Linked DNA regions of Homo sapiens: region 2 is linked to region 1. Evidence: promoter capture Hi-C in 16 types of primary human blood cells and fetal thymus (Javierre and others, 2016). All regions are on one chromosome and are shown on one strand. The core of a region is centred on a gene start or on the middle of the fragment in contact, and the rest is flanking DNA. Distances in the headings are between cores, read along the strand shown.

The links. Contacts are between HindIII fragments. The CHiCAGO score rates a contact against its expected background, and 5 or more counts as called.
Region 2: a contact is called between a fragment that was not itself captured here and the fragment with the promoter of HSPB2 in region 1, in 8 of 17 cell types (megakaryocytes, total CD8 T cells, activated CD4 T cells and 5 more). The highest score is 9.0, in megakaryocytes.

What each region holds. Positions count from the first base shown.
Region 1 is chr11:111,911,484-111,918,524 of GRCh38, forward strand. It overlaps HSPB2 (heat shock protein family B (small) member 2), which reads left to right and starts at 1,251. Exons shown (of 2, transcript NM_001541.4): 1 at 1,251-1,440; 2 at 1,958-2,610. The coding sequence starts at 1,347. The coding sequence ends at 2,412. CRYAB (crystallin alpha B) reads right to left here and starts at 287. Exons shown (of 3, transcript NM_001289808.2): 1 at 41-287. The coding sequence starts at 241. It overlaps HSPB2-C11orf52 (HSPB2-C11orf52 readthrough (NMD candidate)), which reads left to right and starts at 1,253. Exons shown (of 5, transcript NR_037651.1): 1 at 1,253-1,440. RefSeq lists an enhancer at 2,002-2,655. The HindIII fragment of the contact is 6,880 bases long and covers 330-7,041 here.
Region 2 is chr11:112,017,956-112,025,176 of GRCh38, forward strand. DIXDC1 (DIX domain containing 1) reads left to right here. Exons shown (of 20, transcript NM_001037954.4): 20 at 1,001-4,698. The coding sequence ends at 1,081. Among named protein-coding and RNA genes, the nearest start is that of DLAT, 3.8 kb to the right of the region's middle. RefSeq lists an enhancer at 6,415-6,604. The HindIII fragment of the contact is 1,386 bases long and covers 5,279-6,664 here.

The DNA.
Region 1 (7,041 bases), core at 1-2,500:
CCAGTAAGGACTCTCCCGTCCTAGCTGTGGGGAGACTCACCTCTGAGAGTCCAGTGTCAAACCAGCTGGGTGCCCGCAGGAAGGAGGGTGGCCGAAGGTAGAAGGGACTCAGGGAAGTAGACGTCGGGAAAAGATCAGACTCCAACAGGTGCTCTCCGAAGAACTGGTCAAAGAGGCGGCTGGGGGAGTGGAAAGGAAAGAAGGGGCGGCGGATCCAGGGGTGGTGGATGGCGATGTCCATGGTGGCTAGGTGAGTGTGAGGGGTCAGCTGGCTGGTCAGCTCCTTCAGCTGCAGCTACAGCCAGCCCCTTATATATGCAGTCTTGTGAAGCTTCTGGAATGGTGATGTCAGGGGTTTTATTATCCTAGCTCACCAGCAGTTCATGGAGACTTGTGATCCGGGATTTGGCAATGTGACACATACCCAGTACTCACTGAGCTAAGAAAAGAGAGACACAAACACGTCTGAGCCGGCCAGTGACTTGTCATGGTCTTGTTTCACTAGCTTTCTGTCCACACCCAATGGCACCCACCCCCACCCCTGTTCTCTGAAGCTGGTACAGAGTCAGGAATCCCAAGCAGGCACGCGGGGTGGGGGGAGGATGGGAGCCGGCGTAGTGTGCCCCTCCTCCTCCTTTCCAGTCCTGAATGCCAGGGGAATCAGGCCAGCAACTATCTTGGGCCTGGGCAGGGACTGGAATCTTCCTAGGCTGAGCCCCAGGGACATTAACTCTTTGTGAGTCCTTGGAAGAGAGCAGTGATGGTCAACATGTCAGCACCAGCCATCTGCCTCGTGCCCTGGGTTGACCTGGGTTTAGGAGAGGATCCCACATCTGGGCAGAAAGACCCCACCCCCTGAAAAAAGAGCAAACAGATTTCTTGCATCTTTCGTTCTATGTGGCTCTCAGAACATTAAATCCAGGAGTGCTTTAGGAATTGGGTGCACAGTGCCTGCCACCGAAGAGGAGAAAATGAGGTGTGGAAACGTGCAAACCGTTTGTGAGGGTCTCAGCGAGGCCTCTTCATGCCCCAGGCACCACCAGCTCCCCCTCCCCAGCTCGTTCCCAGCCAGGACCCTCAGCTGTCCTCTCAGGCCCCCTGCGACAGCTGAAGAGTGTGCGGGGGAGGGGACTAGGGGTCCGGGCGGCGCTGGTCACACCCTCGTTGCTCTCACTCAGGGCCCCCACTCCCAGCCCCTCCCCCCCCAAGAGGCTCGGCACTATTTTGGGTGGTGTCGACCCCGCCCCCACCTCCTATCGAGCCCTGGCTCTCCGGGCAGCTGGAGGGGTCGCGCTGCGCCTGTTGGGGCTGCACCTCGGACCAGGGCTTCTGCTGCATCTGCAGCCATGTCGGGCCGCTCAGTGCCACATGCCCACCCGGCCACCGCCGAGTACGAATTTGCCAACCCGAGCCGCCTGGGTGAGCAGCGCTTCGGAGAAGGTATGGCACAGACACCACCCCCTTGCCCCCCACCCCCACCCCCTGAAATTCTGGGCTGACCTCCCAACGTTGCTGGCCTCCACCCCACTCTGGGCTTAACTGATCTCCTGGGACCAGCCACCCCCCACCCCAGACTACCCCTCATCCCCTCCAAGCAGAGATCTTTCCCATTCCTGCTGACCTCAAGACACACTTGGTGCTTGCAGTGCTGATACCTGCTCTTTGCCGGCCTGGGTGTGCCTCCTTGTCCCCCTTCTATCCACCCAGGCCGTTTGGTGCCTCCTCCTCCTCCCCCTCCTCCTCCTTCTCCTCCTCCTCCTCCCTTTCCTTTCCGTTCTCTTTCCCCTCTTCCGAGCTGCCTTCTCCTCCTAGCTACAGTGTGGCCTCCCTCCCGTTCCCTACTCCTCCTGACTCCCCTCTTGCTCTTCCCAATCCCTCCTCTCCAGATTTCCCATTTCGCCCCTGTGCCAGCCTCATCCTCCCTCATCCTGCCTCTTGCCTTCTCTCTGCCCTTTAGGCCTCCTGCCAGAAGAGATCCTGACCCCCACACTCTACCATGGCTACTATGTCCGGCCTCGGGCCGCCCCAGCTGGGGAGGGCAGCAGGGCAGGGGCCTCCGAGCTTAGGCTCAGTGAGGGCAAGTTCCAGGCATTTCTGGATGTGAGCCACTTTACCCCAGACGAGGTGACTGTGAGGACTGTGGATAACCTGCTGGAGGTGTCTGCCCGGCACCCCCAGCGCCTGGACCGCCACGGCTTCGTGTCCCGAGAGTTCTGCCGCACCTATGTCCTGCCTGCTGATGTCGACCCCTGGCGAGTCCGAGCTGCTCTCTCCCATGATGGCATCTTAAACCTGGAAGCACCTCGGGGTGGCCGACATTTGGACACAGAGGTCAATGAGGTCTACATCTCCCTGCTCCCTGCGCCTCCTGATCCAGAGGAAGAGGAGGAGGCAGCCATAGTTGAGCCCTGATTGCCACAGACCCAGCACCCAGCAAATCCCTCTCTACCTCCCAAGGTGATATGGGCAGCTGCCCACCACTCCAGAGGTAGCAGCATCCTTGGGGGAAGGGAAAGGTGCATGGTCCACAATGTATGGTTTGGTCCCATGGGACATGTCATAGCCTTGGTTTAGTTTTGGGTGGAGCTGAATAAACCCAAATCTCAGGGCCTTGTTTGTACTGCTCCCTATTCTGTGGCCGGGAAGCTGGGATGGGGAGGGAGGGAGGAGGTCACAGCCAGCTAGACAAAAAGCTCCTCAGTTTGATGTGCCCAACGTCATAGGACCCTGAGCTCGCACTTGGATGCTGAGATCACACCCGGAAGCTGACTCTGGCTCCAGATCAAATTCCTAGCCATAATTTTCTCACAATGCAACAAAAGAGAGAGTGATCCTGGGAGGGAAAAGGGATATGCCATCCAAACAGCCCAGAGGGCACTGTCTGAGCTGGTGATTAGAGACACAAAAACAAGGGTCTCCAGACTGTCTGGCCCTTTTTGGGTAGGGGCTGGGAAAATGGTTTTTGGCTGGTGAGAGTTGCCTAAAGTCCTGGAGTGAATACTTTGTTTTCATGTACTAAGGTCTGTCCACTTAAATGGTCACTGATTTTGAGAGCCTGAGTATGCATACACAGGGCACAGACACAAAGCCTCTCCAATTATCACGGAACCCCATTACCTTCCCATCCTCTGGGGGTACGGTGTATTCAGGAAAGCCTGAGGTCTGTCCCCTCAGTTATTCTCTGCAATCAAGAGAACATCCAGCTACATGATTTGGGGGAAGTGTCCAAAAGACCTTCCTGCCTCCAAATACATATTTCATTAGGCTGTGGTAGATACCTACAATTCTTCCATTAAAGCAGTTGTTTCTTGGCTGGGTGCAGCAGCTCACACCTGTAATCCCAGTACTTTGGGAGGCCGAGGCAGGAGGATCACTTGAGCCCAAGAGTAAGAGACCAGCCTGGGCAATAGAGTGCAACCTTGTCTCTACAAAAAAATAAAAATTAGCCAGGCATGGTGGTGCATGCCTGTAGTCCCAGCTACTTGGGAGGCTGAGGTGGGAGGATGAGCTAGGGAGGTTGAAGCTGCAGTGAGCTGAGATTGCGCCACTGCACTCCAGCCTGGGTGACAGAGTGAGACCCTGCCTCAAAAAAATTAAATTGAATTGAATTAAATTAAGTGGTTGTTTCTTAACTTTTGGGAGTTATAGACCCTTCTGAAAATCTGACAAAAGCTATAGCTGCTCTTACCAGAAAAATACATATGCTCCCAAATTTGGCAATACAATTTGAATAGGTTCCCACAACTCTTAAGACCCATTCACATACCCCCCTTAGGGATCTGTGGACCTCCAGGATAACAGAACTCACTTGAGGAATTCGACTTTTGGTTAAAAGATTGCTGTCTATTAAAAATGAAAGCATGCCCCAGAGAAATAACATTTGACATATTTAACTGTTCATTCATTCATTCAGTAAATATTTATCAAACCTCATGTAATACACCTTGGGGGATATACATTGTAAATATAAATTATAAAAACTATTAGCTTTTATTGTCAACTTTCCAGAATCTAGTTGAGAAGAAAAATAATAAGAAAAGGATTCTACTTAGACTTCAACCAAAATAGCTTCACATTGATATGTTTTGTAACTGAGCTTTATTTAAAGGAAAGGGTTTCCTAGCTATAAGAAATTTGAAAACTTCTGATTTAGTCCAAATCCCCTCTCCATTCAAATGCTTTTAAAGTTATTAATCAACTTATTCGGGGACATTCTGAATAACAGACAACTTAGAACTTCTCACGGTAGTCGTTTCCATGTTCTTTCTTTTCTTTTTTAGACAGGGTCTTGTTCTGTTGCTCAGGATGGAGTGCAGTGGCATGATCATGGCTCACTGCAGCCTCAACCTCCCTTGCTCAAGCAATCCTCCTGCCTCAGCCTCCTGAGTAGCTGGGACTACAGGTGTGTGCCACCACGCCTGGCTAATTTTTTACTTTTTCTGGAGATGAGGTCTCGCCTTGTTGTCCAGGCTGGTCTTGAACTCCTGGACTCAAGCAATCCTCTATCCTTGGTCTGCCACAGTACTGGGATTACAGGTGTGAGCCTCTGTACCTGGCCTTCCATTTTCTTTTTGGTCTTAACTGACTTAACCGTTATAAATTCCTCCTTTTGTTGAATCAAAATCTGCATTTCAGTAACTTCTCTGGAAAACAAACACAATGGTTTTTTCACTGAAAATCCTTCTGATATTTAAAGATAACCATCCTGTCTTCCTGAGGCTTCCCTTTCCCAGCTAAACATGCCTAGTTCTTTTTTTTTTTTTTAAGACAAAGTCTCTCTCTGTCACCGAGGCTGGGTGTACAGTGGTGTCATCTCCCCTCACTGCAACCTCCTCCTCCTGGGCTCAAGCAATCCTCCCACCTCAACCTCCTGAGTAACTGAGGCTACAGGCATGCGCCACAACACCTGGCTAATTTTTTGTAGAGACTGGGTTTCGCCATGTTGTCCAGGCTAGTCTTGAACTTCTGGCCTCAAGCAATCTGCCCACCTCGGCCTCCCAACACATTGGGGTTACAGGCGTGAGCCACCACACCCAGCCATGCCTTGTTCTTTCAACCATATCATACAGCACTTTCCACATCACATATTACCCAGATAACTTTATTTTGAACATACTGCCTTTTGACAACGTAACTTGAAATTCAACATCTAGACCTAAAATTATTATTCCAGTCATGGATTGACTGGTACAGACTTCAGTGGAATAATCAATATCCTTGTTTATCACTTCAGGCTTCTATTAATGCTGCTTTAGGCATATGAGGTTTTCTGGCTACCACAATGGTCTATTCCTCTATTGATTTCTTTGGAGTTTCTGGTCATCTAAAAATCCCTTAGGTGATTTCCTTTCCTTTTCTTTTCTTTTCCTTTTTTTCTTTTCTTTTTTTTTTTAGAGACAGAGTCTCACTCTGTCACCCAGGCTGGAGTAAAGTGGTGTGATCACAGCTCACTGCACCCTCAAACTTTCTTGCTCAACCCTCCTACCTCAGCCTTCTGAGTAGCTGGGACTACAGGCACACATCACCACACCTGGCTAATTTTTCAGTTTTTATACTTTGTAGAGATGATGGGTTGTTGCTATATTGCCCAGGTTGATCTTGAACTCCTGGGCTCAAGCGATCCTCTTGCCTCAGTCTCCCAAAGCAGTGGGATTACAGGCATGAGCCAAGCCACTGTGTAAACCCAGCTGCTTAGGTGCTTTTTAAAACATTACAGAAGGGGTGACTAAAAAGGAACCAGATTATGGAGGGCTTGGAGTGCCAGGCTAAGCAGTTTGAACTGTATCCTGTAGGTGATAGGAAATCATTAATGGCTTTTGAACTGGGAGGAGAAGGAGTGGGTAACAAGATGAAAAGGATACAGTTAATGGTAGAGTAGAGTACAGAATGGATTGCATGGAAGAAGCATGGCCATGAAATAGTGCAATGATTGGGGCACAAGAAAAGAAAGTAAGATGTGGGAACCAGGCGTGGTGGGAGGGTCACTTCAGGCCAGAAGTTCAAGTCCAGCAGGGGCAACATAGCAAGACCCTATCTTGGCCAGGTGTGGTGCCTCACACCTGTAACCCCAGCACTTTGGGAGGCTGAGATGGGAGGATTGCTTGAGGCCAGGAGTTCGAGACCAGCCTGGTCCACATAACAAGACCCCCATCTCACATTAATTTAAAAAAAAAAAAAAAGACCTTGTCTCTAAAAAGATTTTTTTTTTTTTAATTAGCTAGGCACAGTGGTGTGAGCCTGTAGTCCCAGCTACTCGAGAGGCTGAGGGGGGAGAATCTTTTGAGCGTAGGAGTTTGAGGTTGCAGTGAGCTAGCCACTCAACTCCAGCCTGGGTGACAGATTGAGACCCTGTCTTTAAAAATAAAAGAAAGAAAGAAAATAAGATGCTTTGTAATAATAACAACAATGCCTAACTCTTACTGAGTGTGTCCCATGTGCCAGGCCCTGCACTAGAGCTTTATTTTTCACCACAATCCTGTAAGATTGTCACTCTTACCCATGTTTCATAAGAGGAGGAGTTCAAAGTCCAGGGTATTCTCTGTGGAGTGCAGAGCTGAGTGGTGGGCCCTGAACATCCACTTAAAGGACAATAACCAGGCATCCGAGGAAAACACTAAAAATGGGGTGAGAGAACTGAACACAAGAATGATGGGTTTCACAGATTCTCGTAGAGCCCATATTTTCTACTGGTGAGTGCGGGTGAGTCTAACTTTGGGTTACTGGAAGGAGACGCAGAGTTGAGGGGTAAGTGGAGAATCAGTAGTTCTGAACTGTGGATAAGGAAATGAGTGGTTAAGAAGTGCTGAGGCCATCCTGATCATAGAATCATCTGATTTTATACCAGAAAGGGGATTAGATTCAGTTTTTTTCATTTCACAGCCCTAGAAACTTAGGCCCTATAAAGGTTAAGTGATTTGCCCACATCGATTTCAAATAGCAAGGGAGAATATATGAGGAACCCATTTCCCCAAACTTAAGTTTCCAAGAGACTCCAGTATCCCAACCCAGATTCTGTACAAAAATAATAAGAAACTGGTACCA
Region 2 (7,221 bases), core at 4,722-7,221, 110 kb after region 1:
ACTAGTGTCCAGAAGTACATGAGTTCCCTGACTAGGTCAGAAGAATTTGCCAGAGCCTCAGACCATGGTCTGATTACTCTAGACAAGTGGTCATAGAATAGTCCAAGATGCTGATAGGTTCTTTAGTTGTAGGACTTCATCATTTGACTGAGAACTTGGATATAATTTTTATTTTAAATTATTTTGTTAGGGAAAATAAAGAACCTAAGACAATAAATAATTTTCCATCTGCAGCCAAATCTTAGAAAACTTCTTGCTTCCTATGTAGAGCAAAATAAACACGCATGGATATATGGAACTGTGTATTTCTCATAATGAAATCAAGGAACTTCTAGGGAGTTATGTATGCTTATGCCCAACTCCTTGAGTAAGTATTTTCTTAGCCTACGCGTCTCTTTATAATCCATTTGTCAAAGATAGACTTTTGGGGGAATACAGTTCTGGGTTATATAGTATTACAAGTGGATTCACTGCAGTTACAGAATGAAAAAAGTTATTATAGAGAAAGTAAAATTTTATTTTGTAAACATTTCCTCAGTGAAATGTTTTAGTAACCCTGTTTTATTAGTGGCTTAGGAAATGAGTTGAATGAATTAATGAAAATAACTGCATCTGAGAAATGTGTTAAAATGAGTCTTTTTTCCCCACCCTTTCTTTACATTGCCTGGTAACTAAATTTTCCACTTTCTCATTTTTAAAATACTTAACACTACATCTTTCCTCTAAGAAGCCCAAAGTACTTTGTGATTGGTAATTTATTAATTCTTACAAATCTCTATGAGCAAAGTAGTATCAGGCATTTTTTAAAACCATTTCATAGATGTGGATCTAAGAAAAAAATAAAATATCAGTTGCAGTTCTAGGGACAAGACCAAAAGGACATAGACTCTTAACTCAAGGCTTTCTTCTACATGGTTGAGGTCTTATTTTTATTAGCAGCAATTGTTTAGTGAATCAGATTCCCTGTTTTTTCACTGTGGCTTTTTGTTTTTTTCTCTAGATTTTCCATGATGATGATGCCATCCCTGGATGGGAAGGGAAAATTGTAGCTTGGGTGGAAGAAGACCATGGAGAGAATTAATGCCAAGTATCAGATTGAGGGCTTATGGAACCTGGTCACTCCCTGGCTGCTTCACTCAGGAAAGGGAACTAAAACCAGAATACACTAAGAAGTTTCTAGTTTGTGTGCCAAAACAGAAGCTTCTCCAAGCATGATGGCCACAGGTCAGTCCTCTTTCTGTGCCTGGCATATCTGGTACTTAAAATTCTGTCCAAATGTAGACCATGGGTTCATCTGGAGTTCCTTGTCCGTGGGAACACAGTGTTCTATTCTACTCTGAGGACAACAAACCGAAGGCCTTAAACGATGGGGATGGATGATCCCGCCTCTGTAGGGGCATGGCTGCTATTATCTGGAAATTAGGAATTGGATGCATCATTCCTGTGTGTTACAGTATTATTTTAATTGGCCTCAATGGTTGCAGCAATCAGAGTCCCAGCGTTTGTACTCACAGACAAGGCAAAGGTACCAGCTTTTCTGTTTCTTTGAACCTACTGCAAACCAAGAATAACTCATGAGGTGGTACCAAAGATGAAAGCCCAGACTTCAGTAATCTTTTGAACCAGACGTGGATGGTGCTGAATTGTTGCTTGGATGGAAAAAGGGCTGCCCATGTTGTGCTACACTATGCTAAAACTGTAATTTAGTAAGACCTTGGGCTGCCTCTTCTGTCTTAACTGGTTCTGCAGCTTGTCCTTTTGCCCACATAGGGCCTATTTCATGTACTGTTAGTTTTCTCTGGGGACTCTTTAACTTTAGAGCCATTTCTTTTTCTTCAAACTGATGAACTTTTGTTTGAAAGGCATAAGGAGTGAAAAGCTCCTTGAAAATCCAGGCGGGTATGGAAAGGTGCTGCTACCCATATCTTTTTGACTTTCTTTGTTTCATGACTTTAACTCATGGCATCTCCTTTGTAGTAAAAGGAGACAGACCATTAATTTCAGCATTTCTTTGTGATTTATAAGTACTGAGCATGAAGTACTTGTCTGCCCCTCATTTCAAGGCCAGAGTTATTTTCTATTTATGTATTAGTCTAGGCTGATCTTTTAGGGCACAATAGAAACCATGGGGCGTGGAGCATGAGTTGTGAATGGCAGGGATCATTCTGGGTAAAAAAAACCTAGAATCATTTCTGATGTGCAACATTGTCAAGTGAAGAAGCTAACAGTTCAACTACCGAGATTATTTGATAACCTGGGTTTTCTCATTCATCCATCAAGCACCATCAACCAGTCAGCCATTATTATTTATATATGTATTACCAAAAGCAGTCTATCTGCCTGTGACCTCCAATGTACACTGCCAAACACAAGAGTAGGACACATCTGTTCTGGGTTCTTGACCTATCTGTCTCCAATTCATCTCCCCTTTTCAGCCATTTCAACAAACTACTCTTTGGAGCTCTGAGATGACATCTTGTTGTTTTATATAGATGTATCTTTTAAAAATAGTTCACGTTTGGAGAATTCTTTTGTACTCATTTGCTTTTTGTCTGAGAACCATGTCTATTTTTATAACTGGAGTGTGAGTTCTGTATCTTCTCACATTCTGTATACTGTATCCATTTTCTAGAGAACCCAGTAGCTTTTATACAGTCTCTTCTTACCACCCCTTGTGGTTTCAGAACAAGCTTTATTTTATTACGAGTATATTAATGACAACTAATTCCTGTTCCAATTCTACCTGTTTTAGTTGTGAAGGTAGTTTTGTGTAATCCAGTTGATTGCTCCTCTGGCAGAGAGAAGGAGCTCAAAAGATACTTGATGTCTTTCATGTAAGTTTACCTGGTCTTTTCCTATTGAAGAATTTTTCATCAGAAACGACTGGGAAAGTTTGGGAAAGTCAGCAAAAGAAAGAATGCATTTCGAAAGCAAACAGAAGAAAAAAGTATATTCTCACAGTTTTTCCCCAGGAAGTCTGGAGAAAAAGTCCTCATGTCACCAATTTCTCTGTTGCATGAATTTTAGTGTTTTGCTATAAGACAGCATGAGGGCTATCAGGCCAAAATTCATTATTGTATTTCCAATACAGTTTGTCTTGAATGTCTGTCTCTTAAACCAGTTTTTACTTGTCAGTTTTCTCTCAGCAAACAGTCTTACTATTATGTGGAATTTAACTTTTCAGAGAAAATTTCCAAAGTCCTCTACCTTATTTGGCTTTTATCTGTGTCTTTTGGAAAAGGAGCTGCATGGCCTCAGTGCCTCCATAAAAAGCTTAAGTTGAGTTCATGGGAGAACATTAAGATCGTTTTTTTTCCCTTTTAGCTCGGTAATCTCATGTACCACAGGTAATGACCAAGCATCTCTGCTAGAGGATGTAACTCTCATAACTCCTGTGTAAAATGAGGATCCTGTTGGTGATCCTCATTCCAGTTTCCAAAGCGAGAGGAGCCTTCTGAGCAGAAGTATGCAAGACTGATTCTGTTTGGAACAGTTTCCTATTTGGCTGCATTCTAGGAGGCCTCCTGACTTATTCATAGTATTGTCGCCTGGTGGCATTGGTGTGGGGTAGCTTGTCCTGCTACTTGCTAAAGTTCTCTTTCTTTGAGAAAACTGAGGAACCAGAATGCTTAGAGTTCATAAAATAATCTCTAAACCATGTTAGGTTAAAACAAAATGACCATCTCACAAAAACGAGTTTAGTTGAATGCTCAATTCCTTACAAAATCTTCATTTAAGGCTGAGTGTGGTGGCTCATGCCTGTAATTCCAGCACTTTGGGAGGCCGAGGCAGGAAGACTGCTTGAGCCCAGGAGTTCAAGACCAGCCTGGGCAACGTAGGAAGACTCCGTCTCTACATAGAAATTTTATTATAAAAGTAGCTGGGGATGGTGGCACACACCTGTAGTCCCAGCTACTCAGGAGGTTGAGGTGGGAAGATTGCTTGAGCCCAGGAGTTTGAGGTTGCAGTGAGCTGATCATGCCACTGCACTCTAGCCTAGGCTACAGAGCAGGACCCCATCTCCAAAAAAAAAAAAAAAAAAGTCATTTAAAAACTGAAGAATGTTCTCTTCTTGCTCAGTTCCCTAAATTAGCTGGGGGGATTGGGATACTTTACAATTTTTACATTTTTAAATTTGAAGAATTTGTTTTAAACTTACTTGGTAATGGCACTTCTACTTACTGACCAACTTTTCAGCTCTTTTTGACCAGGATGGTTGCAAATTAGGGAAAATATCTTTATACTATACATCCAATTCAAGAGGACTTTAATTACTTAAAAGCATTTAGGTCATAATTAAAATTATTTTCACTGTTTCCATAAAATAAGCATTATGATTGCACACTCCTTCTACTGTCTGAATTTATGTAAGAGGTATAGCTTGCTTAAAATACATATATATGTAAAGTTATATTTTCTTAGAAACATGGATGTTTACAGCCATTGCTTTCAAAGAGATTATTACTGTGTATTCTCCCTGTTTTACAATATGTTTTCATGAAGACTATGTTACACCAGAGGCTTCTGATTATCAAAGTGATAACCAGTTTTAACTGCCGGTATGTACCAGATTTGTGAACTAATTTAAAAAACCACAAACTATGAATAAAATGGGGTTTGCAAACTAAATATCATTAATGATTTTCACTTGCGTTTACTGATGAGATTAATCAATAAAGCCATTTACATTTAGTGAAAGCAAATTTCCTCAAGTGATCTCCCTGGTAGCATGTTTACTCACTATGTGGAGTGGAGATAAGAATTACTTTATTGCTACAGATATTTTACAATTAGTATTTCTATGTAAGCACATAGGCTATTATCAAGGACAATTTATTTAGCACTTATTTTGAAATTATATGTAAACATGCAAACAAATAAGAACCCAAGAGTATAAACTCTATGACAAAAGTCAGTATGCAAGCATTAAGAACTCTTTCAGAAATGTGTATTTAAAATGACCAGAATTCCCAGATCATTTGAAAGCTGCCTCTTAAATGCCTCTTATCAATTCATCTTAAATGTTTGCTATATTAAATTCTTTATCCCTGAGTGCCTTCATTTGACTTCCAATTACGTATTTTCAACTATTAATTGGCTATCCCATTATGTTAAAATTAAATATGTACATAACTCAAAATCTTTCACTACCAACTAATTTCTGTTTCTCTCAATATCAGTGATATCACCATTCTCTTAAGTATCTCTATTTCAAACCTTTGAGTCTTGAGTCTCCTTTTCCATAATTTCCTTTATCCAGTCTGTTTAGTGGAATTCAAGCTTGTTCTCTCAGGACTGATTTGAGAAACCTAAGCATTCCTAGCCCACCTCTGGGGTAAGCTCGCCATCTCTGGACTGTTTGAGCTATGCATTCCTATAATTTAACTACACTTAAGTCAAAAGTATATTCAAGACACAAACTCGCTATTCTTTGAAAAATGCAAAACAGGGTTTAAGCAAGCATACCTAAGTGCACAACAGATCCGGAAGATCACCTCATACTTTATACCAAAGTCTAATTTAGATCCAGTTATTAAGTTCAAATGCAGCAAAAGCAGCAAGATATTTTAGCCAACTCAAAAACATTTTTATAATAATTTATAAGTCCTGGGCGGGCATGGTGGCTCGCGCCTGTAATCTCAGCACTTTGGGAGGCCGAGGCAGGTGGATCACCTGAAGTCAGGAGTTTGAGACCAGCATGACTAACATGGTGAAACCCCGTATCTACTAAAAACACAAAATTAGCTGGGCATGGTGGCACGTGCCTGTAATCCCAGCACTCGGGAGGCTGAGGCAGGAGAATCGCTTGAACCTGGGAGGTGGAGGTTGCAGTGAGCCGGGATCATGCCACTGCACTCCAGCCTGGGCGACAGAGTGAGACTCCATCCCCAAATAATAGTAATAAGTCCTTTCAGTAATTACAATTATTCTTTCATTGCTTCTTCCAATTGTTAATTCATAAGTTGTACATAATTGTAACAATATAATTGCTCTCTTCATATTATTTAAAATATGCCTTTTCATTCAATCTAGAAATTTTATATTTCTCAATTATATTGCTTACATATTATTCTGATAGACAGCTGTACCTGCTTAAACATTCCAATTTAAGTAGGCATGAAATAGTACATCCAATCTGTTTTAGTTTTCCAAATTAATTGTTAGCAAGATTAGCCCCCATTTTTTTTTTTTTTTAACAGATGGGAGTCTCATTATGTTGCCCAGGCTGGTCTCAAACTCTTGGGCTCAAGTGATTCCCCCACCTCAGCCTCTCAAGCATTGCTGGGACTACAGGCATGCACCACCGCTCCTGGCTAAAATCTTGTTTTAAGTTTCTTCCCTCCAACTTCCTCTTGCGTTCTTGGTGTTCTCTAACCATCTCTACAGGGGGGAGGTGGTGATACACAGCACATGCTTCCTCCTTATCTAATGTCACCTTCAGTTCAGAAACGATATGTTTTCTAATTAAAAGACAACTTTACAAGAGAAGCGTGCCTAACAAAATGTGTAGATGACTTTTTATTCATTGATTCAAAAGACATACATTCAGCCCCCGCTATTTACTGGATATTAAGCTCTGGGGCTACATGGAAGGACCACGCAGACACTCTTCATGCCTTCAACGGCTTACAGTTAAGTTTTTCAAACATTTGAAACATAACGAAGCTTTTGGTTACTTAAAAGAATTCTATGGTATTAGGGAGCAACACCTGTTTTGTAAACCTATATCTTCATACAGGGAATATGCTTAATCTTGCTACAGTATACATGAATGCGGGAATGTATCTTCCTCTGGGCTGCCTTTCGTTACCACTTGGCTGGGTGGAACACCTGTTCACTCCACTTTCCACTTGGGCTACAAACCTGAAACGAAATCTTTGCAACCAGTACAGCCTGCGCGGGGCGCGGCCCAGTCCATCCCCCTTCGGATGCGCAGAAGCAGAGGTCACCACGCCGGACCCCTCGATTCCCTCGCGGGCGATTCCTGGCTCCTTCACCACCCCAGCACTCCAAGACCCCCGCCCTTTGGCCTGAGGCTCCCACTGCCCTAGCCAGTTCCCGGGCTCACTTCCAGCTTTTCCAGAAAGCTTGGCCACGCCCCTCGGCCCAGACTCTCAGGCCACTCGGCCGCAATTAACCCGCGTCTCTGCGCCTTTTTAGGCCCCTCCCCCTCGGTCGTGCCCTTGTCATCTCTTAGGCCCCGTCTCACCCTTTCGGATG